Linked DNA regions of Homo sapiens: region 2 is linked to region 1. The links are contacts of gene promoters, found by promoter capture Hi-C in blood cells and fetal thymus (Javierre and others, 2016). All regions are on one chromosome and are shown on one strand. Each heading gives the region's core, a stretch centred on a gene start or on the middle of the fragment in contact. The rest is flanking DNA. Distances are from core to core; before and after follow the strand shown. Region 1 holds the start of CCDC122 (coiled-coil domain containing 122). Region 2 overlaps TSC22D1 (TSC22 domain family member 1).

Evidence for each region. Contacts are between HindIII fragments. The CHiCAGO score rates a contact against its expected background, and 5 or more counts as called.
Region 2: a contact is called between a fragment that was not itself captured here and the fragment with the promoter of CCDC122 in region 1, in 7 of 17 cell types (non-activated CD4 T cells, monocytes, total CD8 T cells and 4 more). The highest score is 9.0, in non-activated CD4 T cells.

What each region holds. Positions count from the first base shown.
Region 1 is chr13:43,875,824-43,882,161 of GRCh38, reverse strand. It overlaps CCDC122 (coiled-coil domain containing 122), which reads left to right and starts at 2,422. Exons shown (of 7, transcript NM_144974.5): 1 at 2,422-2,531. LACC1 (laccase domain containing 1) reads right to left here and starts at 2,258. Exons shown (of 7, transcript NM_153218.4): 1 at 2,043-2,258; 2 at 615-1,210. The coding sequence starts at 1,176. RefSeq lists a silencer at 2,371-2,520. The HindIII fragment of the contact is 5,095 bases long and covers 830-5,924 here.
Region 2 is chr13:44,427,621-44,433,958 of GRCh38, reverse strand. It overlaps TSC22D1 (TSC22 domain family member 1), which reads left to right. Exons shown (of 3, transcript NM_183422.4): 3 at 1-1,816. Among named protein-coding and RNA genes, the nearest start is that of TUSC8, 25 kb to the right of the region's middle. The HindIII fragment of the contact is 4,737 bases long and covers 1-3,618 here.

The DNA.
Region 1 (6,338 bases), core at 1,173-3,672:
TTTAAAAGATGCTATTCAAAATACCAGTCTCTCAATTAGACCTTCCCTGATCACTGCTACCTGCCCTTGTTATTTGGCTTCTAATTTCTATGGCATTTTGTACCTCCATATGTTCTTATGGCATTCTGCTTTGTGTTTGTTTTACACTCCCTATGAGATTGTTGCTCTTCAAAAGGTATATTGTGTCTCATCTGGCTTTGTTATATCTAATAGCATATAGCTCACAGAAAATACTGTTTAACCAAGAAGTAAGATTGATTGTTTTAAATTTTACTCTTCTATGAAGGTGCCAATGATTTGAAATTTCAGAATTTCTAAATAGAAGATTTTCAGTGTCATAAATCTCATTGCAAAGGAGGGCTAGATTATTTGTCTCATCATCAAATTTTTGTAAAGCAAATTTATTTATTTGGGGTGGCTTTGAAGGCTTTATCCCTTGACACCCCTGATACTACAGGGCCAAACATGACACCTCTGTGTTGCCACTGATGCTAATGAGTAATCAGCCCACAACAGTCAACAAAAGAAAGGAGGAAAAAAAGAGGTGAACTACCTCTGAAGAAAGACTAGTTTTCCATGTACAAAGTAAAAACAACAGTTAGTGGTTAATATACCTGGGATCAAAGAAGAAGTGATAATAGTTAATTTTCCTCTCAGTGCTGGCAGACTTCTCAAAAATGTTTCTATTTCATTCTGAATTCCTCTTAGTTCTTGAGCTGTGATTACGTTTATTTCAATGGACTGTTTAAAAAGCCCTCCCCTAAAAGTCACTTGCAAATCTTCAAATTCAAAATTGTAAACATCAGTGAAGAGTTGATCAATAAAAGCTTTCATTAATGTCTTCCTGTGCCTGGGTACAATTACCTTAATGCTGCTCAGATTTTTTTCATCAATTTTCTGTTTAATGGTATACAAAGTGGCAGCCATGCTGGGACAGCTAACAATCTCAAATTCTTCCAAGAGAGCTGATAATCCATTGCTTGTTTCTATTTCACAATTATCTTGTTCTCCATCCCTTTCATAGCTGATGTTACTGCAACACATTATACAGAGAAACTTGGCCTTGGCAGCATGGTGGTATTGGACAGCATTCAAAGTCTTCAGTAATGTCTGATGGCAGTTTTTTTGAGAGTTCAATTTCAAACCAAAAAGATCAATCAAAACAGCTTCTGCCATCCTTGAAAGAATACTTTTATGCCAAATAAATCACCTGCAAATAAAAATTAGTGTAAGAATATAAGATTATATAAATCTTATAGTTACAACAGAAATTTGTGGTAGATTAAAAACGAAGTAATTACACTGATTTTAAAATGTAACTAAAATAGTAAATCTAGGCCCCTCCCAGAAAAGCCAGTCTACTCTGTCACAACAGAACCATGACAGTGAAAGCAAAGCCATCTTTTAATTCGTTTTGTGAAAATGCTGGTACATCTTTCCAGCAGCACGACAGTTCCTCTGTTTTGTTTACACAGAACTTTTGAGTAAGGAATTACTTGTGGAGTTTAGACAAAGTCCTGTTTTTAAATTGCAGAGTGTCAACCTGTGTGATATATCATTAGTCCTGACATGATTGTCATATTAGGTCTCATCCTTTCATATGCGGGGGCTTAAGTTTACGAAGCTAAATGGAGCTGCACGCGAAATTCGCGTTTTAAGATGATAAAAGCTGAGATGGCTAATAGAGTTCCCTTCAGGATTTGCGCAGTACTCCACACTTAGCAATGACCACAAAAGCTATAGTGATTTGGATGAGACAGGCTTCCTCTCAACTTTCTTAATTCATTCTCCCCGTGCAGCTTTGCTCACCTCCAGCCCAGCCCTCCCACCCCAACCTGCGGGGCTCCGGTGACCCCCTTTGGTGACGCCCTTTGCCCCAAGAAGGTTTTCTCCTGCCGCTTCCCCTAACCTTTGCTCCCCATCTCTCGGGGCTCCCTCTGAGGTTCATTTAGCCAGTTTTGAGTGGGTGACCGTCCCCCCTTCCCTGTTCATTGTGAATTTCCGCCCAACGTGTGTCGCCGCCAGGTCCCTGTTCCTCCTACCCGCCTCGGCTCACGGGGCGCAGGCTGTGGCTCTGCACCTGCCCGGGCACCTCCACCGGCGGCTCACAGCCCATTCGGGACTTCCTGTCGGACAACGCACACCAGAGGCGATTCGGTCCTCGCCTTCCCGCTCTTCACCTTCGGTTGCACACCGGTCTACGGCGACCTCTGTGACAATTTGCCGCCCCGTCCCTCGTCCTGAGCCTCAACGAAATTGGGCAGCCGCGAGCGGGTCAGCTGGAGTCGTAAGCTCGGCCCAGCGCGACGACACCCGCCCCGCCTCACCTCGCCCACCTCGCCCACCTCGCCCCGCCTCGCCTCGCCCCGCCTCGCCCCGCCTCACCTCGCCCCCCTCGCCCACCTCGCCCCGCCTCACCTCACCTACCTCGCCGCGGCCGCACAGATTCCCCGCCTGATACCGTCCCAGGATCCCAGGGGAAACCTGACGGCCAGGTTCCCTCGTGCCAGCTGCCGGGAGGCGGGAGGGAGGTAGGCCAGGGCCGCCTGGCGTGCTTGGTGCGAACGCGGCGGGCCCAGCGCGAGAGCTGGGGAATCCCGGGATGAGCCAAGCGCCGCGAGCCCGCTGCTGCCTCAGCAGTTCCGGGTCTGGGCGGTCCGCGGAGTCGGCATCCCGCAGCCCCGGCGGCGTTAGAGGAACAGGAACCAGAGCCGCGCGAGGGCTCTCGCCCGGGAGCCAGGCGGGTTAGCGGGCAGGAGTGGGCAGGCCGAGTCCGGAAAGGGTCGCGAGGAGGCAGCTAGGGGCCCCTTGAGGAGGGATAGGGCGGCGGAACGACGGGCCCTGGGAGCGGGCGCAGGGCGGCAGGAGCTGCAGGTCTCCAGAGGGCACGGGGCGGGGAACTAGGGGCCCGGTTAGAAAGCCGGGCGGCGGGAACGGCGGGCACCGTGAGGGGGCGGCGGGAATGGTGGGTCGCGTGAGGCCGGGCTGCTGGAGCGACCTCGGGACTAAACCGCAGTCTCCCTTCTGCTAATGGAAGCCGTTTCCCAAGCGAGCTGAAGTCCGCGTTTCCGGTCTCTGAGGGACGCCTCGCTGACCCAGCAGTGTGGTCAGGACGCTGGGTTTCCTCACCGCAGCCCAGGGCCAGTCCCTTGTCATGCTAGCTCTTGGCAGCTTTTCCCATGCAGGGCTCAAGTCAGGGGCCCCCTCGAGATGTTTTAGTGTTTTTTTGTTGTTCATTTGTTTCCAGAAACAAGCTGTTGTCTCTCCTCCAATGTCTTTGTGCTGATTCTTGCTGACCAACACTCTTCCGAGCGCCTTCACTTGTGTTGACAACACGGATGTCCTCTATGGCCTTTTAAAATATGTGCCACTAGCAGGACTTAAGTAAAAGGCGCTCATCCCTAAAATCATGATAAAGGTGCAGTTTAGCATCCCTGATCTGTCCTCCAAGAATATAACGTTCATTTATTTGAAAATAGCAGTTAGGACATGGAAGGCCAGTGTATGGTAAAGGGAAAAAATATCCGACCTTCCAAGAGTAAGAGAAATGGTGCTTCCTGGGGAACTGGTTATGATGGAAGGAGAGGTCCCTTTTATCTTCATTGTTGCTCATTTGGTAGGCGCTAAAGAACCTTTGTCTCATAATCTCAGATAGCTGGGAATTTGGAAGAGCCCTCTGGGGTAGGCATGTTCTTGTGCTTGACTAGAGACTGGGAGCACTAACCCAGAATGGAAACCCACCCTTCAATAACCCTAGCACCAGTTATGTCAAAATTCATGTTTTCTTTGGTCATTTGTTAAAGAGCCCCGAGCGGTAGATGGTACACCCAATCAGAAGGTGCACTCTGCCCTGAGTTTGTTTATGTTAAATATCATTAGATTGGTGCAAAGGTAATTGCGGTTTTTGCCATTGACAAAGACCACAATTACTTTTGCACCAGCTTAATACCTCAAGCAAAACAGAGGTCTTTTAGTTACAAAGGTTTTAAACATTTATCTCTGTTTTTACAATGGTGGGATTCGTATTCTTTCATGCAAAAGTAGTGGCAGTAAAAAAAAAATGAAAAAGAAAATATTTCAAAAGAATGAAGTTGTCAGGGAAGAGAGTTTGTTATATTGTATTTGCATACCATTTCCTTTCACCATCTGGTCCTAGTGTCATGTCCTAACACTTCCTCATCCCATTTTCACTCTATCCTACTCCAGTGGTTCTCAGTCTTGGCTGCAAATCAGAACTGCAAGTGCAACTGAAAAAAAAAATAATTAATGTAGAGACTCTATCCCAAATATACATTGAATCAGAATCTCTAGGAGTTAGGCCTGAGCATGTTTTGCTTTGCTTTTTTGTTTTGTTTTAACCTCTATGTATGAGTTAGATGCATAATTAAGTTTGAAAAAATAAAAACACCCTATTCCCAAGCCACTCAAATAAAAGCTGTTCTTTGGAGGCCACATGATTTCATTCTTTACATTTGCAGTTCCTCTACTTAGCAAAATACCCTCCTTTTTATATGCCTAACTGCTACTTTTTGTTCAAGGCTCTTCAAGCTCAAACATAATCTTCCCTGAATCCCCATCCCTCATCAAGCAAAATTAATAGCTTCTTTACATTTTGTTCATATGAAGAAGCCCTCTCATAGATGTAGTCTGGGCCCCTAGCCAAGAAATAAGTGGAAAAAATGGTTAAATATTGAATTGTACACTTTATAAGGATGTACTTTGTGGTATGTAAATTATATCTAAAAAAGGCTTTTTTTATAAGAAAAAAGGTCAGTTAAACCACAGAATCATGAAAAAATATAACAAATACCTTAAACTGTATTCTAACCTAAAACAACTGTGTGTTCATTTGCCCATCTATTGAGAAGATCCAAGACCTTTTCTTTGCATGTAGTCTACTGATTGGAATTCTGCATACTATCTCTTGCATAAACCGTACCCATAAACCATCAGCTAAGATTTCCCAAGATTTTGTTCTTTTAAGGGGAAAATAACTTAAAGGCACCTGTGAAGCAATCTGAGGGCAGATTTATACTTTGTAATTTTTTTCTTTTTTGAGATGAAGTCTCGCTCTGTCGCCAGGCTGTAGTACAGTGGTGCGATCTCGGCTCACTGCAGCCTCCACAGGGTTCAAGTGATTCTCCTGCCTTAGCCTCCCAAGTAGCTAGGATTACAGGCGTGCACCACCACGCCCGGCTAATTTTTGTATTTTTAGTAGAGACGGGGTTTCACCATGTTGGCCAGGATGGTCTCGAACTCCTGACCTCTCTTGATCTGCCTGCCTCAGCCTCCCAAAGTGCTGGGATTACAGGCATGAGCCACCGCTATATTTTATAATCTTTTACAGTTAATCTCACATACTTTTGTTGGGTCTTTCCAAAATATTAAACATAGATTTTTAAAGAAACAACAATTTCCACACTATTTCATTGGTTTATACAATATTAAGTTACGAAAGCACAATATCAAGCACAACTGGCAAAAACAGGTTTGCAAACAAACACAAGTAAGTCATAAGATTGAACTAGTCAATTGATAGGAGCAGAAATAGGCAGATTTACTAGTTAACAGTTTCCTAGCATGATATGGGAATTAGTCACTTATGACTTACAAAGGTAATAGAGTGAGTTAAGTGGTTAGAGGTTATGTGTAGATAGGCTTAGACATAAGCTGCTGCGCCTCTCCATTTTAATTGACTGTGTGTCTTTCTGCCTAGAGTGTTTTGAGGGCAGAGATAGTGCCTGGCTATTAAGGGAACTATTGAAGAACTCACCAGACATTTTTATAATGCTATGTAAATCTTCTCATGAGAACAAGTATAATTTTAAAGAACAAAACAGTTGTTTTTAAGCCATTTACACTAAGGTTTATGGATCTTTCCAGAAAAAGCCATGTAGCAGATGCAAATTTCCTTGCTAAAAGCTTCTGTTAGTTTCCTAGGGCTAGCATAACAAATTGGCACTAACTGGGTGACTAAAAACAACAAAAACTTGTTCTCTCACAGTTACGGAGGCCAGATGATGAAACTGAGGTGTTGACAGCACCTTGCACATTTTGGTGGTTCACTTACCTCTTCTGTTGTCTGGTGACTTCAGGTGTTCTTTGCCTAGGGGCTAAGTGACTTCAAGCTCCATGCCTCCATCGTCAAATGGTCTTATTCCATGTGGGTCTGAGTCTCAAGTAGCCCTCTACCTTTCTCTTATAAGGATTCTTGTGTAGAAATAAATGAAGATCAATCAAATGAGAACAAGCAAAAGCTATTTATTCAGGCCTTGTAAGGGAGGGAGCCACAATCTCCTGCATTTTAGCAAAGTTGAAGGCAGGCAGAGGAGTGGGCA
Region 2 (6,338 bases), core at 1-2,500, 550 kb before region 1:
TATTTTGTACAATAGAGGACTGTAACTACTATTTAGGTTGTACAGATTGAAATTTAGTTGTTTCATTGGCTGTCTGAGGAGGTGTGGACTTTTATATATAGATCTACATAAAAACTGCTACATGACAAAAACCACACCTAAAGAAATTTTAAGAATTTGGCACAGTTACTCACTTTGTGTAATCTGAAATCTAGCTGCTGAATACGCTGAAGTAAATCCTTGTTCACTGAAGTCTTTCAATTGAGCTGGTTGAATACTTTGAAAAATGCTCAGTTCTAACTAATGAAATGGATTTCCCAGTAGGGGTTTCTGCATATCACCTGTATAGTAGTTATATGCATATGTTTCTGTGCATGTTCTCTACACAATTGTAAGGTGTCACTGTATTTAACTGTTGCACTTGTCAACTTTCAATAAAGCATATAAATGTTGATAAACAAGTGTTTTTCATATGACCCTGTTAACATAATGGCAGTCATTTCCACAACTGTTTCCAGGTAAAGTTAACAATTTGACTAGTAAAATCCTGAAGGGCAGTGGAATGATTGGAAAAGTAGGGGCGTGATTTGACTGCATGAAGTAAAAGGAAATTGACACATTGAGTTGTTCAGCAGGTAAGAGAAGAGACAGTGGAGGAGTCCAGCTCAATTCTAACTACTGTGTGACTTGGACAGGTTGCTTCACTCCTGGACGGATGTAGGGGTTTGAAAGAGATGATCTCTTACATTCCCCTTTGGCTTTAAAATTCTAGGAGTCCTTGAAAATCTTAATTTTTTACTGAACTGAGAGGAAGAAGGAGCCTTATTCTGTGTATAATTGGAATAAGCAGATCTAGGATCAAAAGACGGAAGTTGGAGAAGCTGATTTCCACTTTAAGAACCCTGTCACCCTGGGTTGGGATGTTTCTCCTAGTGTAGGATGAGTTTCTAGCTCCTGGGATAATTCGTTTTGTCTAAGCAAAAGATGATTTGAGGTGGGACCAGATGAGCAAGGATGTCCTTGCAGTTGATTCTGCATGACTATAAAACAGGCCAAAATTAAAACCACGAAGGAATCCTGAGGCAGATTGGCCCCTGGCACCTGAGGAGTGAGCCTGAGGGATCCCACTCTGCAGTAGGAGTAACGTGAGCGAGCAAGTGAATGGGGTGGGTTTACCGGCTCTGTAATCTATCAACCTAGGGCCTCAGCAGTGGCCCCCTGCCCAGTAGGAATTGGACCAATCCCAAGTTCTAAGGCTTGTCTTAAGTCCTTGCAGAACAAGGACAAACTTTCTGAATCATTCATTTCTCTCATCTAGAGCTGGTGGGAGATTGAGAGGTGAATGGGACATCCAAGATCCCTAAAAAGAATTGTTCGATAGCGTGCATGTGTTATAAAGTGGTGACACGGGCATCCTGTTGAAATGATGGATGGCTCACTGCCATAGGCTGATAGCAGTTGTCATAAAGATATTTTGGGGGAATTTGAAAAGGACGTAAAGAAAAATCTTTCATATTGGCTTGTTGGTTATATAACTTCAAATTTAATAAAGGAATACTTACGTAGTAATTACATTTCCTTGAAAAAACTATAGTGAATAGAAATCCCTAGCCATTTCATTTTTTATGTTTTTAATGAAGATCTTTAAAATACCATAGGTGGTAATCGTGGAAAATTTGAAAAATCTCATGTCAGTGTATTAAGATGGTGGAGAAGTTTTTTTCTCCATTATTTAATGGAACTTTGGGTCTTTTTATTAAAAATGTGAGACTCATGAAATTTTGGCAGCTGAATATTTGTGAAATAAGAATGAATTATTAAAAGATGTCTTTCCATACATGTTCCTCATTTTAGTAATTACTAAACATACTTGAGATGATTGACTTATATTTAAACATATTTAAGGTAATTTAAAAAGGCATTTTGCTACTTGCTTATAGACCTGAGTGTAGGTCTTATTGGCCTGTGGGTTATTATATAACTGATTATGTTGCACTTATGTTCTGTGGAGAAGGAAAGATTTTTAAGGGGAATGGCATGCTGTACCAGCACTGAGTGTTCATGACATCAGTTGCAGCAGGAGAAACCCCCGTTCAATGAAGGAGAAGTAGGAATTTTACATGGATTTGAATGAACGTCTACTTTGTATTTCAAATGAACAGTGTTCATATTTCAGTAATTGTGTGCATTTTTTGCATACTTTAAAAGAGAACTTTTATTTTTCATTATGGAATAAATATGCAATGCCAGAACAGCTTTAAATTTATACAAGAAATGTATAAAAGTTAATTATAACTAAAATTAGGAATGAAAATTAATCTATATAGACACTACTCTGCTCTTGCTTTGTGTAAAATAAGTAGTTGAAACTACCAGGGGCTGACAACATGACTGCTTTTAGATGTCAACTTCAAATCCATTCAGGCAGCAATTGTGGCATTACGATTTTTAGAAATGGAGGCAGAGAAAATCAAGTTTCCTCTCCCTCTTAGGTAACATTGCCTGCAAGTGGAGATCTGTGCCCACCGATAGAACTTGGAAGCAGACAGTGCCATAGGTTCCTGCACTGGTGTGTGGGAGGACCCTGAGCTGAGAGGCAGGCTTCTGGCTGCTAGGCCTGGCCCTGCAGTCATCAGCTGTTTGACCTTTGGACCAGGAATGGAATCCTTCAGACCTGAGTTCTCACCTGTGAAATAAGGATTGGATCAGGTCACAAAGATCCTGTCTTGCCACAGATGCTACAGTCCTCTGCATCTGATAATGACTTTATTTTATTCTTCGAACTTTTGGTGGGAGGGTGTGTGTGTGTGTGTGTGCGTGCACTGTTTTTGTTTATTCATTTAACTTAATGGCTAAAATTAATTTGGTTTTAATCCTAGCTCCTCTGCTAGTTACTAGCTAAGTGACCTCAGGCAAGTTCCTTGTTGTTCTCTGTTTCCTCATGCTTAAAATGGGGACATGCTATCTCCATAGGGGTTTTGGGAGGCTGATGCTGGGAAGCTGTCAGCACAGAGACAGTTCAGAGTGAGGTGGGTTCAAGGAGTGTTAACCATTACTATTATTTCTGAGTCATTCATCTGCTTGTTTATGTTTGTTTATATATTTAATTTTGTATTTTTCATAGGGATAAAGGTGTGGCAGCTTTATTTTCTAATAGCTTTTGATTTAGTATTTGGTAATAGTAGTGACTGTTTAAACTTTACTGTGAAAACACACATGGGAATAATGTCCTTTAGAATACAGATAGAAACACACCGTTTTTTTCTGTATCAAAGAAATAATAGCAAAAGGCTGCATTTCATTTCTGTGAATTAGAGAAGGGATTCGTTGGGAATTGTCCATGTTTCAGTGTCCAATATTTTCGGTACTACAGAAATAATATTGGTGGAAGGAAATGATTACAGGTGGAGTATATATATATCTTAAATTATTAATTTCATTACAGAAAAAGGTTCTATGTAAACCAGTGCTATGGAATGCCAGGCAGGCCTGAAGTCGCTAGGCTTGGAGATCAGGTTCTGGCAACAGCTACTTGGAAGGTTCAGTAGCCATTTAAAAATGTGCAGTATTACAACAGAGGTCTGTGCTTTAGACCAGGTGTTCAGGACCCCAGTGTCTGTCGGATATGGTGGAGAAGCTTCTTGAGTGAGTAGGGTAAGCAGTAGGACATGGTAGTGACTGTGGCAGTTGGGGAGTGTGCTCAGCTAACAGGGACAGTGCTATGTAGCTCCATCCAGTTGCCATATGGGAATTCAAGCACTGTGTTGCTTGATCTTCCAATTTCTTCCAAGTTCCATAAATCCAGGATTCTGTCTGGAAATGCCTGACTTTTGGACACTGCACAGACCAAATAAGAGAGCACACCTACTAAGCTGGTTTGGCCCACAGGCCACATGTGTCCCCTCCGCCTTCTGTCGTCTGACTGTCTCAAGAACTAGAATCTGCCCTAAATGGCAGCTCACCACCCTTCAGCTCAAAATAAATCAGGAAAATCTCTTCTTTTTGATGAGAGAAAGGGGGCACAGGCTATTTGTGTGACTATGGTGCACAGTAAACTGGTACTTTGTGTTGAAAACCATGTGTTAACTTACTCAGAGAACATTTACTGAGTACCTGCTAGAAGCCAGAGATAGTGTAGTGAATGAGCCACAGTCCCTGTCCCCAAGGACAGTTCACATAAGCTGTCTTTAAGATAAATGAGGTAGTTTGTTTTCTGGCAAAATTTGCCTTATGCAATATAATATCTGAATTATTCATTTGTTGTTCCTTCTCAGACGAACCCTTTGGCAGAAATATTTCTGGGAATTCTTCTAGGAACTCTTGTTAAATGAGTAGTGTTTTTCAATGCGGTATATCCCCTACCACTACATTTTATAGCTGATTCATTTAGGAACAAAGACCATGTTTGTAGATGTGTATCACCAAGGTTATATAACACATGACCCAAATTTTCAGGGACACATATATTTCAGTTACAATAATCTGCCCTGTTGTCTCATAAGTGCATCCAATTCATGCCCTGATAAGTGGTTTGTAGTCACTGTAGATTCAGAGACCAAGAAAACAGAAGAGGTAGTGTCTCTACTTAAACAGTGAGACTTAGTGTCTCTACTTAAACTGGTTTTCCCAGGACTGAGGGTGTTCTGAGTAGTGGAACTTTCAATGTCACATCCATGAAAGTCCCAGGCAAACTGCGACAAGCTGGTTGCCTAAGATTCCATTTTCTATTCCACTTGGGCACACGCCTGAATTACATCTCCCCGCCCCCTTGGAGTTAGGAGTGACCGTGGGACTCAGGTTTAGTCAGTGGATGAGTGATGAAGTAACTGAAGCCCCCCAGGCTTGGCCCATGAGAAAACCATTCTCAGTGATCTGCCAGGCTCCTTCTCCTTCCACTGATGGGATGGAGAAGACCCGGCAACCTTGGGAGTGACAGAGCCTTTGTCAGCTGGATCCCTGAATGACCGAAGTATAGTGCCCTCCCCCACGAACCAGGCAGCATATTTGGATGAGCAAGAGTGTTGCCGCCATTAGGCATTTTAAAATTAGCTTCAGTGGCTAACCTTTGCTAATATGGTTATCAGTACCTGAAGTGGAGTGATGTCAAAAAAACCTTAAATATGGGGCATTGACTATGGTTGGCTGGTGGTGGGTGGTGATGAAACTAGTGGAGGCTAGAGAGATCAAGACCCATATTGTGAAGTGACAAAATGTTTTCTAAAACTGTGGCCAGCAATAACTTAGAAGGCTGGCCATGTGCCTGGTGTGCACGTAGCTGGTACAAGAATGTTAGGACCTTTCACTCTTCACTGTGTTACTCCTCTGATGTTTTTCAGGGAAAAGGTGAGCTCACAAAAGAATTAGTTTGTAAGTACAAAGGAAAGGGAAAAAGAAATGCAGAAATTTGGGGCTATTTGATACTGGAAAAGCCTATTGCTTCTACACCCCAAGGAGCTGGAAATCAGTAGGGCCCATTAAGCCTTTTCAGTTAAGGTGCTTTATCCCTTCAGCAAAGAGTAGACAAAGGGTATTAATTCCCCATATATGCCTTTTGTTTCAGATGACTTCTGCATGGTCACTGTCCAGTGGATAGAGGTAGGGGAGCAGAAGTACAGGCATGTGCAGAAGAATGTTTTAGGTCTTGCTACTGATAACATTAAAATGACTGGAAACAGAGAAGGGAGAAGCTTACTAAGTTTTTGAAGAACATTTACTACCAAGTAAATCACCAGCCAACCCAGACTTAATAACAGCAAGAAAACTTTGTTGAAACCTTCAAACAACCCTCAGGCCCCCCCAACACTGGCAGGAGATGGAAGTGGGTGAAGTGGGAGCCTAAAGCTGTCTAGCTCCCAGGAAGAGCATTATCTCCAACATCCATTTCATACATGGCCCTGGGGGATACTGGACAAGAAAAGCCTCCCAGAGGTAAGAGGCCTGCAGTTTTAGAGAACAATGCACCAAGGGTTTCTTCCCAGAGAATAGAATCATGGTCTAATGGGAGAGCTTCCCCTATTGCCAGGGCAAAGGGATCTTCTCAATGCCTGCCCAACAGGATTTCCTAATAGCTGAGGGCTGGAGCCTACTGTGTGTTTCCTATGCTTCCAATGGGAGGTTTATTGCAATTATTATGCTGCACTCCACCATTGTGCATTGTCAGTGGAAGGGAAGATAATTTGTCTTAGATTACAGATCACCAGACCTTAAGGAGCCACCACATTCAGACCTGTGCCTCATCTACAGATTTGGAGTTTTGAGCTGGATATAGTAGCTCAATGGGACTTTGGGTTATTGCCCCTGGAGAGGGTGAGTGTGTTCTGTGAGGGCAAGAAGATGAAACATACGTTAGAATCCATTGG